5 separate regions of the Homo sapiens genome follow, and regions 1, 2, 3 and 5 are each linked to region 4. Evidence: promoter capture Hi-C in 16 types of primary human blood cells and fetal thymus (Javierre and others, 2016). All regions are on one chromosome and are shown on one strand. Each heading gives the region's core, a stretch centred on a gene start or on the middle of the fragment in contact. The rest is flanking DNA. Distances are from core to core; before and after follow the strand shown. Region 1 has its middle 16 kb from the start of TMEM30B. Region 2 has its middle 11 kb from the start of SYT16. Region 3 overlaps SYT16 (synaptotagmin 16). Region 4 holds the start of PRKCH-AS2 (PRKCH antisense RNA 2). Region 5 overlaps SYT16 (synaptotagmin 16).

Evidence for each region. The method cuts DNA at HindIII sites, captures the fragments that hold promoters and counts their contacts. A CHiCAGO score of 5 or more calls a contact.
Region 1: a fragment that was not itself captured here is called in contact with the fragment with the promoter of PRKCH-AS2 in region 4 in 6 of 17 cell types (total CD8 T cells, naive CD8 T cells, non-activated CD4 T cells and 3 more); the score reaches 8.2 in total CD8 T cells.
Region 2: a contact is called between a fragment that was not itself captured here and the fragment with the promoter of PRKCH-AS2 in region 4, in 12 of 17 cell types (neutrophils, activated CD4 T cells, naive CD8 T cells and 9 more). The highest score is 21.3, in neutrophils.
Region 3: a fragment that was not itself captured here is called in contact with the fragment with the promoter of PRKCH-AS2 in region 4 in 6 of 17 cell types (activated CD4 T cells, total B cells, total CD4 T cells and 3 more); the score reaches 9.7 in activated CD4 T cells.
Region 5: a fragment that was not itself captured here is called in contact with the fragment with the promoter of PRKCH-AS2 in region 4 in 9 of 17 cell types (neutrophils, activated CD4 T cells, total CD8 T cells and 6 more); the score reaches 13.0 in neutrophils.

What each region holds. Positions count from the first base shown.
Region 1 is chr14:61,263,817-61,267,325 of GRCh38, forward strand. It overlaps a transcript of PRKCH not described here. Among named protein-coding and RNA genes, the nearest start is that of TMEM30B, 16 kb to the right of the region's middle. The HindIII fragment of the contact is 1,809 bases long and covers 485-2,293 here.
Region 2 is chr14:61,800,251-61,803,768 of GRCh38, forward strand. No RefSeq gene overlaps it. Among named protein-coding and RNA genes, the nearest start is that of SYT16, 11 kb to the right of the region's middle. The HindIII fragment of the contact is 1,819 bases long and covers 826-2,644 here.
Region 3 is chr14:61,858,507-61,862,204 of GRCh38, forward strand. All of the region lies in intron 1 of SYT16 (synaptotagmin 16), which reads left to right. Among named protein-coding and RNA genes, the nearest start is that of SYT16, 48 kb to the left of the region's middle. The HindIII fragment of the contact is 1,080 bases long and covers 959-2,038 here.
Region 4 is chr14:61,543,469-61,546,998 of GRCh38, forward strand. PRKCH-AS2 (PRKCH antisense RNA 2) reads right to left here and starts at 2,016. Exons shown (of 3, transcript NR_188139.1): 1 at 1,626-2,016. All of the region lies in intron 12 of PRKCH (protein kinase C eta), which reads left to right. The HindIII fragment of the contact is 1,799 bases long and covers 545-2,343 here.
Region 5 is chr14:61,816,696-61,820,331 of GRCh38, forward strand. All of the region lies in intron 1 of SYT16 (synaptotagmin 16), which reads left to right. Among named protein-coding and RNA genes, the nearest start is that of SYT16, 5.8 kb to the left of the region's middle. The HindIII fragment of the contact is 731 bases long and covers 1,656-2,386 here.

The sequences.
Region 1 (3,509 bases), core at 139-2,638, 280 kb before region 4:
GTCTAAGGAAAAGCATCTGAAGTCAGAGTATTGTGTGTGTGTGTGTGTGTGTGTGTGTGTGTGTGTGTGTGTGTGTGTGTATGTGTGTGTACGCACGTGCATGTGCAGTTTCTGGAAAGTGTCTAAGAACAACATCCTTATTTTATTTAATCTCATATGCCAAAAGGGCAAATACATGGGCATTGTTTAACTGAGTCCTTGCTCTGCACCTTATAACTGTATACCAGAGGCCGTGGAAACTGGATCGCCCTCTCAGGATGCCATTATAGCCAAGCAGAATCTCATTAAAAATCAATTCCTCGGGTCCATAAAGCCAGTTTATTTTATCTTCCTGGAGTGCCTGCTGCTAGCAGTTACACAGTTTCATTGTGTGGCAGTCTTGTCTGTTAAGAACATTGCACAAAACGGCTATTTAAAGATTTTCCATTTTTATGTTAAACTTTATAATTTTACAGTAGTTTAAGTTTACAGGGTTTGCTTTTCAAGCTTAGGGTATCTTGTTACATGGGTTGGAAGTAGCATTGCCAGTCCTAAGGTTCCACTAATTAAATATTTGCCTTTATAAACTAGATGTTGTCCAATGTGAGTGTGCAGATTTAATTGGGCAGCAGAGCTCCAGATCTAAGAAAGCCTGATTTGGCCACTTTCAGCAATTTCTCATTCACTGCTGCTTTTTGATTGTTGAATTGTGCCTAGGGCCTTCACTAGTAGTAACACAAAAATCAGCTAGGGAATTTGCTCTTTGTAGTAATCCTAATTCAACTCTCTCTAAATATCTTACAAATCAATATTAGCCAAATTTTATAAATGGGGAGTTGAAAGCACATAGAGATTTAGTGACCTGTACAGGTCACCCTGAATGAGCAACACAGGCAGAAGAAATTGGAGAGGCTACTCTGGCCCCATCTGGAATCTTTTAACTCTTTTGACCCCCTTCAGTGGGCTTCAGGGCTCGCTGATTTCAAAGATCAGTGACCTTTTTGGGATAGTGCTTGGCAGTGAAACAGAGAGGCTTGAATTCCTTAGATTTTGGCTACTGTGGTCCATGACGCAGTTTGAGTTTGTTTTTTAGAAGAGTCCGTGCTGTTAGTGAGGAGAGTAAGGAGGGATGGGGAATGGTGTGTTGGGCTGGGATTGAAGTAGGAAGATGTTTAAGATCACTAGAGCCACCCAGTGTTCCTTCCCTACCACGTGTTGAGGACTAGCATAAGCATGTCATTACAATTTTTTTTAAAGGTTAGAAGTTGACATTGGAAGGAACCAAATCCAAAACAATCCTCAACATAACCTTTTTCAAATTCTCAGTGGAAAATAACAGGGTTATCCTCTGTTATGAACCCTTGCAATTTTGACAATTGCATTTCTCCTCAAGAAACCATCCCAGGCGGGTGCGGTGGCTCATGTCTGTAATCCCAGCACTTTGGGAAGCCAAGGTGGGTGGATTGCTGGAACCCAGGAGTTCAAGACCAGCTTGGGCAACATACTGAAACCCTGTCTCTACAAAAAATACAAAAATTAGCAGGGCATGGAGGTGAGCAGCTGTAGTCCCAGTTACTTGGGAGGCTGTGGTGGGAGGATAGCTTGAGCCTGGGATGCGGAAGCTGCAGTGAGCCAAGATCGTGCCGTTGCACTCCAGCCTGCGTGACAGAGCATAACCTTGTCTCAAAAAACAAAAACAAAAACCCTCACTTTACAGAGGAGACACAGAACATTAAATAACTTTTCCAGGTCACATACTTAGGTATTGGCAGAAAATGGACCATCACCCAGGATCACCACCTCCCAAGCCAGTGCTTCTCTCTGTCACCCCTCTGCCACTAAGAGCACCTTTCATAAGCCCTACACCAAATCATCTTTGAATTTAGAGTCATTTTAGTCTGGGCTTGAAAACATAAAACTGCAATATTGCTACATTAGTGTACAGTGCTAATGTTTGCTTAGGGTGAGACTGGGCTAGGAGAATAAGATCTAGGGAGAGCTCCAAATAAGAGCCCCCAGCTGGGTGCAGTGGCTCATACCTGCAATCCCAGCACTCTGGAAGGATGAGGTAGGAGGATCACTAGAGGTGAGGAGTTCGAGACCAGTCTGGCCAACATAGCAAAACCCCATCTCTACTAAAAATAAAAAAATTAGCCAAGCGTGGTGGCATGCGCCTGTAATCCTAGCTACTCGGGAGGCTAAGGCAGGAGAATCACTTGAACCTGGGAGGCAGAAGTTGCAGTGAGCTGAGATCACCCCCAAGAATGTGAAAAGGGATTCTTTAAGAGGGAGAAAGAGTTTTAAAGACTACTGAAGCTTTTAGAAAAATCATAGGTCCTTGGCTGGACATGGTGGCTCATGCCTGTAATCTCAGCACTTTGGGAGGCTGAGGTGGGTGGATCACTTGAGGTCAGGGGTTCGACACTAGCCTGGCAGGCATGGTGAAACCCCGACTCTACTAAAAATACAAAAATTAGCTGGGTGTGATGGCATGCACCTGTAATTCCAGCTACTCGGGAGGCTGAGGTAGGAGAATCACTTGAACCTGGGAGGCAGAGGTTGCAGTGAGCTGAGATTGTGCCACTGAACTCCAGCCTGGGCAACAGAGCGAGACTCCATCTCCAAAAATAAATAAATAAATAAATACATAAATAAAAATTATAGGTCCAGAAAGTATGTAGTGATAAATAGCCCCTGAAGCTGCATAATAAGACCATTTTTAAAAGCAAGGAACTTCTGGGAGTGCATAAAAAGTAAAATGCATTGCAGGGAAACATAGGAAAATCATTCATGAGCCTCCGAATCAGTGGCTTGACTCAGCACTGAAACATGGATCTTGAGCAAAGACAGATGGAAACTTGTTTTACGAAGGACCAGGAGAGGAATTGTCTCACGAGAATATGTAACTAGAAATGGCTTTATATGCCTGGTTCATCTATATGCTGCTAATGCACTTATTTGTGTATATTTTATGCTAATAGAGGCCCTAAAACTGATATAAGAATCTGTGTATGCTAAAAAAAATTCTGATTCCCCGAGCTTTGCTGAAACGGCGCCTAGGGAGGGAGATGAGGTGATGGGGATGGGTGATGGGAAACAAGAAACACAGTTTTTGAAGGAAAAGCAAAAACTTCATTCCTTGGGTGGGATGGTAGAGGGTGGGGTTGAAGGGAGTCTTCAACCACGCCAAGTCTAAATAGACTGGGAGGCTTTTATTTGGAACTCTCCTTTGGCAACGTTTTATCACAGCATGTTTTCCATTCTTGGCGGAGAAAAGGACCTGGAGGCTATAGAACTGGCTCAGTCTTCACTCTGACAATACGTTCACAATAATGGAAGACATCTTTTCCCTATAACTTTGAAAAACATGAAAGCAGATATTGGCTCTGAGTATGTCTGATAGTCTAACTTTATTTCCTGTCAACAGAAATAACTATGATTTATATGTGGTCATCAACTTCGCATACTCACATACAATTCAGATTGAGAGAGTACAGCGAGATGTAATGCTCGGAGCCTTGATGTATGCC
Region 2 (3,518 bases), core at 485-2,984, 260 kb after region 4:
CTGTCAGCTTTCTGCAGAAGGGGTTGTGAGTAGGGCAAGCCTGTAACATTTCATGGATTTGTCATTCTATTCATGGATTTGATGGAAATGATAATGATGGCAAACACAGTCGTAAATATTTTAACTTCATAATGTAAACAAGTAATGGCAAAAATGTTCACTTGGCTGGACATGGTGGCTAATGCCTGTAATCCCAGCACTTTGGGAGTCTGAGGCAGGTGGATCACCTGAGGTCCGGAGTTCAAGACCAGCCTGGCCAACATGGTGAAACCCTATCTGTACTAAAAACACAAAAATTAGCCGTGTGTGATGGCACGTGCATGTAGTCCCAGCTACTTGGGAGGCTGAAGTGGGAGAATCACTTGAACCAGGAGGTGGAGGCTGCAGTGAGCCAAGATTGCACCACTGCACTCCAGCCTGGGGGACAGAGTGAGACTTTATCTCAAAAAAAAAAAGAGAAAAGAAAAAAAAAAGTTCAGTTGATGCAGCATTGCACAGTGGAAGAGTATCAGACAGCGTGGATTTGCTCTGAGATTACAATCTGCATATGAGACGTAATAAAATCTACCTGTAAGTTAGGGATGGATATATCCCATTTTATCCTCTTCCATCCTTTGAGATATTGTCATCATATTTTACTGCTATGATATAAACCCCATCATACAGTTATATTCTTACTTTAAATAAAGGAAAAAATAGGAGAAAAAGCTGTTACATTTACCCACATGGGAACCTTATCCACTGCTCTTCATTCCTTCATGCAAATCTATGCTTTCACCTGGGACAATTTTCCCTCAGCCTGGAGACATTCTTTTAATTTATTGAAGCTTAGTTCTGTTGGAGATCAATTCTATCAGATTTTGTTTTTCTGAGTCTTTATTTAACCATTTTTGAAGGATATTTTTCCTGGATTTGAATTCTAGGTAGACACCTCTTTTCTTTCATCACGTTAAGGATTGTTGCATGTCTTCAGCCTTCATTGTTTCTGATGAGAAGTTTTCATTCTTACCCATTTTTTGGTATATAACACGCCCTTTTTCTCTGGCCACTTTTAAGTTTTTTTTTTTTTTTTTTTTTACTTTATTTTCAGCCATTTGCATGATGTGCCTAGTGCAGTTAATTTTTCCAGTATATTGTATATGTTTTTCTGTACTGGTCTCACTTGCTTCTCTTTCTAGGACTCCAATTACATGTCTGTTAACTGCTTAATACTGTCCCAAATGTTATTGTGGCTTCCTCCCACACCCCCAGTAATTTTTCTCTCCGTGCTTCAGATTGAATGATTTGACTTGTCTTCAAGTTCATGAATTATTTCTTCTTTTGTATTCAATCTGCTGTTAATCCCATTCAATAACTTTAATTTTAGATGTAGTATTTTTCAGTTCTAACATTTCTCCTTGGTTCTTCTTCATGGTTTTCATATCTGCACTGAAATGTCCCATTTCTTCACCAATTATAACATTTTTTGCTGTAGGTTTATACTATTTTATAGATACTATAAATTTATACTGTAGGTGCTATAAGTTTAGCAAATTTAGCTACCTTGAAGTGTTTGCTAGTTTCAACATTGGGGGCATCAGTATGTCTGTTTCCCCCAAAGAGTATATCTGTTTTTATTGACCGATTTATTTTTTTATTGACTGTGGTTTACATTTTCATGTTTCTTTCCCTGTCTACTAATATTTTATTGTATGATAATACATGTTAGGGACTCTGAATTCTATCACCTTCCTCTAAAGAGTGTTGAGTTTTGTTCTATAAGGCAGTTAAGTTATGACAGAGCATCTTATACTTAAAGGGGCTTGATTGTAGGCTTTGTCAGGGTGGATCTATTCAGCTTGATCCTTAGTTTTAGGGCAAATCCCTTAGTCCTGGAAGTGGTCCCTAAATCTAAGGTGTGGGCTTTTTGAAGTTTAATGGAAACCGTGAAGTGTTTGCCACATCACTCTATTCTTGCAAGACTTGAACTTTGAACTCAGGAGACCTTTGGGTGGTCAGCTGCTGAAATACCCACTCGGGACTTTCAGATTTCTAGCTCTTTGCCCTAGAATCATGGGGGTTTTTGCCTTGCTTGCAGCCAAAGATCTGAGGGGATTTTATACACAGATTTTGGAGTTTCTATGATTGCTCCTTTTAGGGATTTCCCATCTTGACTTCTAACCACTCTGACAGCCCAAACTCCATTCTCTGACTCCTCAGATAGGTAAGACTATGACATTCTGCCTGAGTCCTACCTGCCCAGTGCCATGGACAGGGGAGTGCACTCAGGTAAAGTTGTATAAACATGCATATCTCCTTTACAGCATTGAATCCCTTACAGTTGCTATCACGGAAAGTAATCATTAGGTGACATCCCCCTATTTACCCTGAAGTTACTGAACCATCTTCCCTGGATTTGTGCAGGGTGTCTCCTAATTTACGAAGATTCCAATTAGATTGGGAGTATGACTTAACTCATTTAAGTCACCCAAATGCTATTTGATCATAATTTAGTGTCTTGTTAACCTAATGGCTTGAAATAAATTGACGCACTTCTGAAAATAGGGTAAAAATCCCTGATTTTTCAAGGAGGCTAATCTTCCGTAAATGCTAAGCACTATAGAATCAATTATGTTATTAATTTGCTCTTGGTTGCAAGCTACAAAGCTTGATCAGGCTAATTACAGATTATGCTCTGAGGAAAATATTTTTATATGCACTATTTTTTTCTTGCAGGCACTTTAATATGAGGTTTTAAAAAACCTTACTTAAGACAAATAAAAAAGAAAACCTTCATGTAATTACTTTACCTGCAGGCTAATTTTTAAATACTTCAACACCGTAACAATTAAATGGGCTATGTTAGCTTCAGTTGACAACATTTATTTATTTATTTATTTGCAATGAGACCTCATAATATCCACCAGGCTGGTCTCGAACTCCTGGGCTCAAGAGATCCTCTTGTCTTAGCCTCCCAAATAGCTGGGCCTACAGGTGCCAGCCATTCTGCCTAGCTAGTTGATCACTTTTAGGGAAGGCAACACCCACAAGATTTGTTGGACCTGAACTTCTTATGGTGTGTCTGATTTTAAATGAAATGAATTTTGCTAAAGTCTCACAAATGGTTAACTCTTCTGCCTTTATTACATGTTTTAAATAGTTGATTTATCTCTTAGTTTCTTGCAGCATAATTGGTATATTGCTTCTCTTGCTAACATGTCATTTTACTGTAGGTGGTTAACTGAATGTATTCTCTCTGTAAATTTCAACAAGTTGCTCATAAAATTTTCCCAGCAGAAACTTTTTGTTTCGTATTTAAAAACTGAATACACTGTCCTTTATTTAGAGAGTGTATGTTTGGAAAATCATCCTGTTTATTTGTAAATAAAGATGAACCAGCCAGTCACAAGATATAGTTTGTCTTGTTACCACTTAAAAAAATCCCTTATATTTACAAATATAATTCATTCACAAAACTACCCTTGATAGAATTAGGACTAAATTGCTTTATAATGTTTCTGGATCTCCATAATTGAGAC
Region 3 (3,698 bases), core at 249-2,748, 310 kb after region 4:
AAATAAAAAATAAATGAGGTAGATAAAATAAAGCTTTCACACCCAGGATTTGCCTGTTCCAACTTCCTAGGCTTCATGAAATACCCAGGAAAAAAAATCTTCATAATTACTTGGCATAAGTCGCACCAAGGAAATTAAACAAAAAAATTAGTACGTGAACTTGTGATAGGAAACGTGTCCTTCCATAAGTTTCTTCTCAAGAATGAAAAACTAGTTTTTCAATAGAGTAGGCACTGATACAGGGGTTAAGAAGAAATCACTTAGGCAGATAGTAAGGTTATGGGAGTCCTCGGTAAGGCTTTTTAATGAAAAGCAGCCCCAAATCATTTTCTTTTTTCTTTTCTTTTCTTTTCTTTTTTTTTTTTTGAGACGGAGTCTCACTCTGTTGCCCAGGCTGGAGTGCGGCTGTGCGATCTCGGCTCACTGCAACCTCCGCCTCCTGGGTTCACGCCATTCTCCTGCCTCAGCCTCCCGAGTAGCTGGGACTACAGGCGCCCACCACTACGCCCGGCTAATTTTTTTTTTTGTATTTTTAGTAGAGACGGGGTTTCACCATGTTAGCCAGGATGGTCTTGATCTCCTGACCTCATGATTCGCCCGCCTCGGCCTCCCAAAGTGTTGGGATTACAGGCGTGAGCCACCGCGCCCGGCCAGCCCCAAATCATTTTCTAACAAAGAGCAGCCTGTAAAGTCGAGCTGCAGACGTAGACAGCCAACCTGGGAGCTTGCGCTAGTGAATGCTGGCGGGAACTAGGGACTAGACATGTTGGCTCCATCTTCCTTTAGGTGCCAGCCATGTGTACAGTAAAGAGCGACAAGATGGCGGCCAGACACGGAGAGTTCATTAGCATAATAAGATTAGGGTGGGGTGACCGGATTTGGGCGTGCTATGTAAACTTCACATTTGATTAAACCAATCTGTGAGCCCTACCTACCTAAATCAGACACCACCTCCTCAAGCTTTACTATACAATCCGGCACATCCACAGCCAGCCCATCTTTTCCGCTCGGAAAACCCCTCTCTCTCTCGACAGAGAGAGCTGTTTCTCTTCTTCTGCCTATTAAACCTTTACTCCTAAAGGTTTAGGACACAGACACAAACTCCTTGTGTCTGTGTCCTAAATTTTCCAATGCCAAATGGTGAGCCCCTGGATATATACCCCAGACAATGTAGCCTCCTCAGCACTGGAAAACCAAATTAAGTCACCTGAGATTCCTAGCTCAAGTGCTCACAGGAAGATGAAGGCATCTGGGAAGTGTGGGGAGGACATTGGCACACTTGGGGCTCCAAGCGAACTATATTATAATAAGCAGCAACACATTGACTCCCTAAAGACTAACATAAATCCATTTGAAGGCATCTTAAGGTTCTAAGGTTGAAATAATTTTATAATTCTTTGTTTGGAAAAGTACATTCAAAAGAAAACAAAAAGATGTGGATAAGGTCGGGGACATATAAAACAAGTCCCTAAATAGATGACAGACCTTGTCCATATACCCACATACAGTTGCCACAGAAATAAACAGTACCCTTCTCCTCAATTAGGCTCAATAGTTGTCTTTTCCACTGTGGTTCAGTACGTTTTAATGGTTCCACCTTGAAATAGGTAACAATCTTTGGAAAAAGTCACTCTAGGTTGCACAAAGGTTTTATGTTTACAGTTTGGTACAAGTAACAAAGCTACTTTGAAAGAACTGCTTCTTTCCAAACAACAACAACAACAACAACAAACCATTCTAGCCTGTATTTGTTTGGGTGTGATTTATTTTTAGTTTTCATTTTTTGCAAAGCAGCACAGAAGCAATTATAGGAGTGTAGTAATAACCTTTGTAAACATCATTTGCATATCAGTAAGAACTGATTGTCTTTCATTCCTTTTTAGTGAAAGAGGAAGCAAGATGATCAACTCAGAGTGAATAAGGTGGGGAGGTGCTGGCAATTTGAGATTTGTCATCTAGGACTGCAGTGCACAAAGTGGCCAGTTGGGGAGCCCTTGGTTACTGACTTGCCAGGAGATGAGTACAGAAAGTGAGAGCAAGCTTTTAGAAACTGTTATAGCACTTGACATTGCTGTAACATTTTTATTGTATTTTTAAAAAGTATTGGTCTATAATAGATTGGAAATAAAAACATCTAGTCCTCACAGCAGATAGTTTAAGAGGCACTGGGCCAAGAGAATGGGAGAAAATGGAGTAGGGAAAAGTAGAAAGATTGCTGCACTACATTGAGGATCCACCTGAGGCTTGAGGCCATGAATTTCATGTGAGGCCATTCGATTCAAGAGTGTTTTTCTCCAGCCTTGTTTAGCTATGTTGATACAGGCAGTGTTGGATTTTACCAGGGTGTGGTTTTGCTAAGTGGGCCTAATGCAGTGGGAAGATGCAAGTGTTGAGGAAGTATTCAAGTGAGGTGTACGGAGACTGACCATGGCATTTTAAGCTGGGGGAAGAAGAAAGCAATCGGAGGAGGGTGAGAGGCAGTGACGAAAGTGGTAGGATGGATGGAATCTAGGACCAGGAAGAATCAAGTTGGCTGGAGTTGGAATGTAGGACCAGCAAGGAGTGAACTAGAAGTATGGAAGGTGGTGATCAGAGAGTGGGATTTCTGATAATGAGATTCATCACAATACTGCTCACCAACTGGGAGGGAATCTGAATTAATTATTTTGTATATATCCAGTGGACTATTTTGTAGCCATTAGAGCTCATGTTGTCATTCTATTTCTTTATGGGCACAGAAATGTTCAGGATATCTTAAGTGAAAAAAGCTTACCAATTTGCAAAATTAAGTGGCAAAATTTACTAATTTTTTTTGGTAAAAATATAAACATTTTAATGCACAGAAGTCTTAACTGTGGTAGTATCTGGATGGTTGAATCACAGATGCCTTTTACTTTCTTTCGGATAATCTCCTTTTTGTTTTCGAGACAGGGTCTCCCTCTGTTGCCCAGGCTGGAGTGCAGTGCAAACATGACTCACTACAGCCTTGATCTCTTGGGCTCAGGCTCTTGCTTCAGCCCCCCACGTAGCTGGGACCACAGGCACGTGCCACCATGCCTGGCTTATTTTTATATTTTTTGTAGAAAGGGGGTTTTGGCATGTTGCCCAGGCTGGTCTCGAATTCCTGGGCTCAAGCAATCTGCCCACATTGGCCTCCCAACGTGCTGGGATTACAGGTATGGGCCACCATGCCCAGCCTGTTTGATAGAATTCTTACATAGGCATATTTTAGAGATACTGGGGATTCAGTTCCAGCCTATTGCAATAAAGCAAGTATCTCAATAAAGTGAGTCACACAAATGTTTTGGTTTCCTAGTGCATATAAAAGTTACGTTTACACCATGCTATAGTTTATTAAGTATACAATAGCATCATATCCAAAAAAATACCTACCTTAATGAAATATACTTTATTGCTAAAAAAATACTGGCACAGAGTCACAAAGTGAGCACATACTTTGGAAAAATAGTGCTGACAGACTTGCTTGATGTAGGGTTGCTACAAACTTTCAATTTGTAAAAAAAACACACACAATATCTGCAAATCACAATAAAATGAAGCGCAATAAAGTGAGTTATGTGTGCTTTATTGTTATATTCTTATAGCTTTATGAAAGTATAATTTGCATGCAAAAATTCACCAGTTTTAAGTGTACCATCCTATAACTTTTGACAAGTGTGTAGTTTTGAAACTACCAC
Region 4 (3,530 bases), core at 766-3,265:
ATCCAGATTTTCCACCCTGGTCCCCTCACTCACTCTGTGCAGCTTATAAAGTGCTTTTCTTGGCCCTAGAAAACATTCTGCTTCCTTTAGTAAATGTGTGCAGAATATTTCATGAAGTCACATTATTTTCCTCTTTGGCCGACTTTCCCTCTTGGATCACAGTCAGGGAGAAAGTCAGCTGAGGTGAGGCAACTTTTCAGTGTGACCTTAAATGTGGATGAAAGTGATGGCCCCGAGGAGCACAATTGTTAACTTACTGGCATTTGGGTCCCATTAGGGACATAAGCAAATAATGAAAGTTTTCTGCAAAAGGATTATGCTGTCACCATTCACAGCAGTAGGAACAGAGAGTTTAGGGAAAGGCCTGTGCCCAGCCTAGGATGGCAAGCTATCCACCTCCAACTCCACACCATCTGCACCAACGTGAACTGTGAAAGATTTCAGGCCTGGGACTAATGTTAAATGTTCCCTTAACTCCTCATCTCCACATCACTGGACGGGGGTAGTGGTAGAAGGGCCACCCCACCACCACCACAACACACAAAGCTTCTACCCCCTTAGTATCACCCCGGACCCTCCTTCTCCCGGTCCTGGTTTCTGTTTCATGGTATTCATCCTCCTCTGGCCTCTTCATGGCATCCTCCAGCTGCCACTCTGGCTGCTTCTCACCCTACACCAGGGGTCAGGAGCCATGAAAGTCCGTGAGTGATACCAGCCAGGTGGGAGGTGATAGGGAGTGGTGGGGCATGTGACTGACTGGGCATCTGGTGCCCCATGAAAAGCAGAAGCCCCTGCTCAACTCCAGGCCGTTTCTATGAGAGGAGTGCAGGCCCAGTGTTCCCGAGTATCTCATTTTCCACGAGAAGTTGGAAAACCTGACTTTTCATGTGATGTGACATTTCCTAGCGTTTAAATATTTGAGAAGTAATTAAAATTATTTCAAAACACACTAGGTAGGCCAAATAAAATGTGTCTGAGACCTAGGGCTGGTATCAGTTCTAGTCTGTCTCTGTCACTTTCCACAATCTAACCTGCCCTCCCAGCTTCAGTGGTTACTCAAATTTCAATGTCTCTGAGCGTTAGATGGCCAGCCCTGGCCTGCACCCCAGATTTACCCTAGAATTCATCTGCATGTGGGTGCCCACACACCTCCAATGCAAAGCGGAGCCCATCAGCCTCCCAGATTTGGCAGACTGTAGGATCTCAGTAAGTGTGAGCTATTTTTGTCTTTGTTCCACTAACAAAAATACTACTACTACTAACACTGCTACTAATACTCATGCTACAAAGAATAATCTCTTGCCCCTCTTTTGTTCCATTTCTGTTACTCAACACCACTGCCCCATCAGGCAGCCAGGGAGGACCCTGTGATCTTGGACTCTTCACTCCCATTCCCGGCAGTTAGTGGATTGTGTTTATTCTTCCACGGCCCTCTAGAATGTGCTTCCAACTCTTCCTTCCAATTAACTAGAAACTCTCCTAGTTGCTGAACTTGTCATGTGTTCTCAGCTATTGTCTCAGCCTCTAACTGCTCACCACCAGGCGCTACCTCTGCATTTAAGATTTATTCATCACGCTGTGGCTAGTGTCATCCCCTAAATTGCCGTGCAGCTCTCATCACTCACCTCGGATGGATCCCACCGGCTGCCCCCGCAGTTCCTCAGCCATCCCTGCATGCCAGCTGTACCAGGCACTTGTATGCCTCTGCATTTGTGCTGGCTGTGTCCTCAGGCGCATTTTCTTCCTTCATGCCTACTATGTTAATTCTGTTCGTCCTCATCTCTGGTCAAATGCCACCTCTTCCACGAGGCTGTCACTTGCCTTCCCACCACCAGCCCCAGTGTTATTTGCCCCGTGCCTCTTCCAAGCTCTCACAGCACTTGATCTAAGTCTCTTTTCATTTCATCCGGCTGTGTATTATGAAGTTTGCTTGATTCTTCCCCCTTCTCTTGATTAGCTCCTGGATGAAGAGACACTGTCTTTGTCATCTGCGTATCCCCAAGAAACCCCTAGTGTGCTGCCTTACATGTAGTAGACACCTTGAAAACCTTTGTCAATTGAATCAAAGTTTGTTTGTGTGTGTGTGTGTTTTGTTTTTTCTTTTGGTTTGTTTTTTTTGTAAGTTGAGGATGGCTGCATCTAAAGGGCTCAGGCCAAGGTATTAAAAACAAAACTGCTTGGTTATTCAAAAGGATTTATCAGAACCCCAAGAGGCTAAGTATCAAGCTAGTGAAAGGGTTATTCTGCCTGTCCCCAATTCCAAGGGTGCAGTTTTTAGAGGACGGACGGTCGTGTTTGGTCTACTTGTCGTCAGGCAAGGCCTCTTCCACAGTGCCCCATGGAAGCTTGGGTTCAGTGCCAGGGGCAGGGAGGAATGGGCAAGCCTCTTGGACACTGGGGCTTCAGCCACCCTGGCATATAGAGTCCTGCACTGTTTGTCTTGCCCAGAAGAACAGGCTGTACCCACCCATTCACAAGATGTCCTCTCTCACATCATTGGCAGGCCTGGGAATTTCCCACAGGCCATCTGGGTGTGTTCTGCCGTCCTGTCTCCCAAGTTTTTTGCAGCATTGTTTCTTGTTAATTAGCTCTTAGAATAGCAACTGCTCTTCCATCAGGAATTGTATCCCGTTGACTTTCCTAAGGCAAGAATCTACTCATTTCTTTTTTGTAAGCATTTTCTCCCTTCCTGCCTGCATTGCACAGGCTTACTTAGTGAGAGCCCAAGCAGTGTGAACTAACTCCTAGCTCTTACAGAACTGAGTTACTTATAATATGCATCTCCTGAATCCTGGGTGACCACTGTAAGTGCCTGAAGTGGCAGCTGCTCTGACTGGGCCTGTGCAGCTCTGAATGCTGCATTTACTTTTGGGTCCTGCCTCCAACCCAGAACCACCTGTGGCCTTTAATTCCTGTTACTAGGAGAGAGGAGAAGCGATTAAACCCTGTCAGTATATTCATTTATTAGCTGCCCTTTGAAGCTTTTTTGAAAGCATTTTACAAGGTATATCCCGTCAGGTTGCTTAGGAACTTTTGCAGCCTCCTTCTTCAACATTATCATTTTCATTTGAATCAACACTGGCAGCTTGACACCTCTGGACACCTGGCATGGCAGTGGGAGGTACCTCCAAACACTGTCTTTCCGTGTCTGCACCTTCAACAAGATTTTCTCTGTAAATTCAGCTCCAAAACAATTTTTATAAACACAGCATTACTTTTGTGTTGTTCACAAATCAGATTTGGAAAGAGGTGCTTGGGGACTGTCATGAGTCTATTTAAAGATAACCTGATTTAAATAAAAACAAAAACAAAACTTTTTATCCAAGGCAATTTTCTTTCAATATGGGAAATTAAATTAGCTTCAGTGTCTTTGAAATTGAGAACCACACTCCGGCCATGAAAAGTGAATTATCCTGTACTAATCCTTGCTCAGGAAGTGATCAAAACACCTTTCCTGGCTATTTTGTGAAAGCAGATTTAGCCCAGCATATTTTGATAGGAGCCCAGCACTAAGGAAGTTTCCCAACTGA
Region 5 (3,636 bases), core at 771-3,270, 270 kb after region 4:
GCTCTTTCTTTCTTAGTTAAGAACTTCCACTCTTGGCCGGGCGCGGTGGCTCACGCCTGTAATCCCAGCACTTTGGGAGGCCGAGGCGGACGGATCACGAGGTCAGGAGATGAAGACCATCCTGGCTAACATGGTGAAACCCCGTCTCCACTAAAAATACAAAAAATTAGCCGGGCGTGGTGGCGGGCGCTTGTAGTCCCATCTACTCGGGAGGCTGAGGCAGGAGAATGGCGTGAACCCGGAAGGTGGAGCTTGCAGTGAGCCGAGATCCTGCCACTGCACTCCAGCCTGGGCGACAGAGTGAGGCTCCGTCACACACACACACACACACACAAAAAAAGCATTTTCCCCAAAGATTATTTATTAATTGGAAAATGGGGGGAAAACCTGGAGTATACGAACTTAACCAAATAATCAAAGTTAACATTAACAATAATGGGGCTAGTTGCGGTGGCTCATGCCTGTAATCCGAGCACTTTGGGAGGCCGAGGCGGGTGGATCGCCTGAGGTCAGGAGTTTGCGACCAGCCTGGCCAACATGGTGAAATCCTGTCTCTACTAAAAATACAAAAAATTAGCCGGGTGTGGTGACAGGCGCCTGTAATCCCAGCTACTTGGGAGGCGGAGGCAGGAGAATCTCTTGAACCCAGAAGGTAGAGGTTGCAGTGAGCTGAGATCACGCCATTGCACTGCAGCCTGGGCAACAAGAGCAAAACTCCATCTCCAAAAAAAAAAAAAAAAAGAATAATGGGACAAACTGATATCCTGTACTTCCTGATAGGAAGCACCGGGAAGGACACAATGCCACTTACTGTGCCACAAATGTATAACCTGGTTCTGATCACGAGGAAACATCAGACAAAGGCAAATCAAGAGACATTCTGTAAGTCAGTGTCATGAAAGATGGCTGAGGCACTGTTCAGATTGAAGAAGACTAAAGAGACCACTAAATGCAATGGATGATTTCAGGTTATATCCTAGATGAGGGAAAAAATGCGACAAAGGACAGTGTTGTGATAATTGGTGAGATTTGAATATGGCTTGTATATTGGATAATAGCATTGTATCAGTGTTAAATTTCTTAAATTTGATATTTTTATTGTGGTTGACATGGGACATGATATCTGTACCTAAATGTCAAAGGCTTTAGGAAAAAAGGATATATGCATGTATGTGTGCATTTATATGTATATGTGTATCATATGAGAGAGAAAGCAAAGGTGGCCGAAGGTTAGCATTTGGTAAATTTAGGAGTTCCTTGTGCTGTTCTTGCAGCTTTTCTGCGAATTTGGGGGAGGGAGTTTATAAATGAAAGCACTGAGCTATTAATCTGTATTCTAGGCTTTATGGTCTAATACTATTGAGTTTACTTTTTGAAATAAATAACGTTGGACTCCTAATTCTGTTGTGAAGTGATAATGTTAACAAAACTTTTTATTAGGGAAAATTTCATATACACAAGAAGAGAGAATAGTATAGTGAACCCCCATGTATCCAGGTCACATAGCTTTAATGAGCGTTGGTATTTCACCAGGCTTGTTGCATCCATCTCCACCTCCACCCCCACTTTTCTGGGAGAGGCATTTTGAAGGCAAATCCAAGACATCATGATGCTTCACTGCCCCTCTGTGCATACTTCCCTCCTCATAATCCCCAAGCTTTTATCAGACTTCAGTAGCAATTCTGCAATAATAGATGACAGCAGCCAGGCGCGGTGGCTCACGCCTGTAATCCCAGCACTTTGGGAGGCCGAGGCGGGTGGATCATGAGGTCAGGAGTTTGAGACCAGCCTGATCAACATGGTGAAACCCCATCTCTACTAAAATTACAAAAATTAGCAGGGCGTGGTGGCACTCATCTGTAATCCCAGCTACTTGGGAGGCTGAGGCAGGAGAATCGCTTGAACCTGGGAGGCGGAGGTTGCAGTGAGCCGAGATTGCTTCACCGCACTCCAGCCTGGGAGACACAGTGAGACTCTGTCTCAAAAAAAAAAAAAAAAAACAGCATTTAGATATTATTAATGTTATAGAATAGCAGAGTTCTGAGGAATGTACTGATTTGACATATATGGGCTGTGCACTTGTTTTAAGTTTGAAAAGCTGACTAAGCCTGGGTAATTATAAACAGTGTAGAAGAAAAGGTCTGTGAACCTGCTTGTTCTTGTTTTGTTTGCTAAACTGCTCCTCCTGTTTTTAAACCAAGAATTAAATTCTAGAAGAAAACATAAATATGGTTATGGTGGCAATATTCTCAACTGATTTACCCAGTTGATGTTATCTTATTGAAACATTCTAAGAGTAAATCAGCATAAATAATTTCATACTGTTTGAATAGAATTCCTATGTTTTCATTTCACCATGGCATCTTTGAATTGGTAAACCCAGTAAAGCTTTTTCTTGACCAACCTGAGTTTCTAAATGAATCTAAAATTTGGTCTATATGTTTTATAAAAGAAATGGGACAGACATCTTGGGAGGAATAAACCTTCCCTTCTCCTGAGTATAGTAGATTTGGATGACATTTGTCCTTTTAGATCACTAGGGTATTATTTAGTCATTAACTATTATTTAGCATTATGAATGATAAGATGGCTATTATGCCATTTAACAATTGTCTGTATATTAAGATGATAATCAAACTCACTGACAGTGCTTTCTAGTAGATTGGAGAGGTATCTGAAGTGCATATTACAAAAAAAATTTTATGCACAGCTGTCATCCTTCCATTAAGGATTATACATATCTGATTTTAGGTAGTTTACATTTATGGATGGATATTACCCCTTTAGAATAAAATTTTCTTATTGTGAGAATATAATATTCTTCTGGCGTCTAATTTTAGGAATATAATAAGTCACATTCTATAATTTTACTCACAATGGAGCAAAGATTAAGAGACATAAAATGATTTTACCCACCCTGCATGAAAATGCCCCTGGTTTATATACTTAATTCAAAAGAGCACCATACAGATAACCTACCAATTACAAGGAGGTTTTCAATTGGCTTAGCTCAATAGAAATTGCAAAAGATTGAAGAACTGAGTGTGGTATGGTGGAAGAGAGCACAGGCCTGGTTCCAGAGGTGCCTGAGTCGTGAACTCTGGTCCTGCCACTCAAAGGCTGGGTAAGAGGTAAATTGTTTAACTTCCCGGAGGCTTTGTCTTATTCCACTCTGAGGAATTACAAGGAGTAAAAGAGATGGAACAGAGTTGCTGGCACAACATATGCATTAATAAATGTCTGTCCCTTTACCTGCTACAAGATCCTTCCAATGGCGTGTACCTCCCCATAGGGTGTACCTCATATTATGAGAACAATCTGACTCAGAAACAGGGTGCCTAGTCATTGATTCCATTTTTTGTGTGTGAGGAATATAAAATTAAGAACAAATGATCTGTGTACAAATGTAAGACTAGGGAAGAGAATCTAGGACAAGCACCCAAAGGTGCAGAACTCAGATTTTAAATAGAAGTAATAATCATGTTTTCTTCCCCAATGTTTATTGTTTTGTGCAAGTGTACTTGTACCATGAGCATGTGGATTTGTGAAATGTGCACACACACAACTTGTAGAAACCTTGGGAGAATTCACTGATGGGCTGTGAAAAGGGCTACAACAGCTACCTCTTTGATTTAA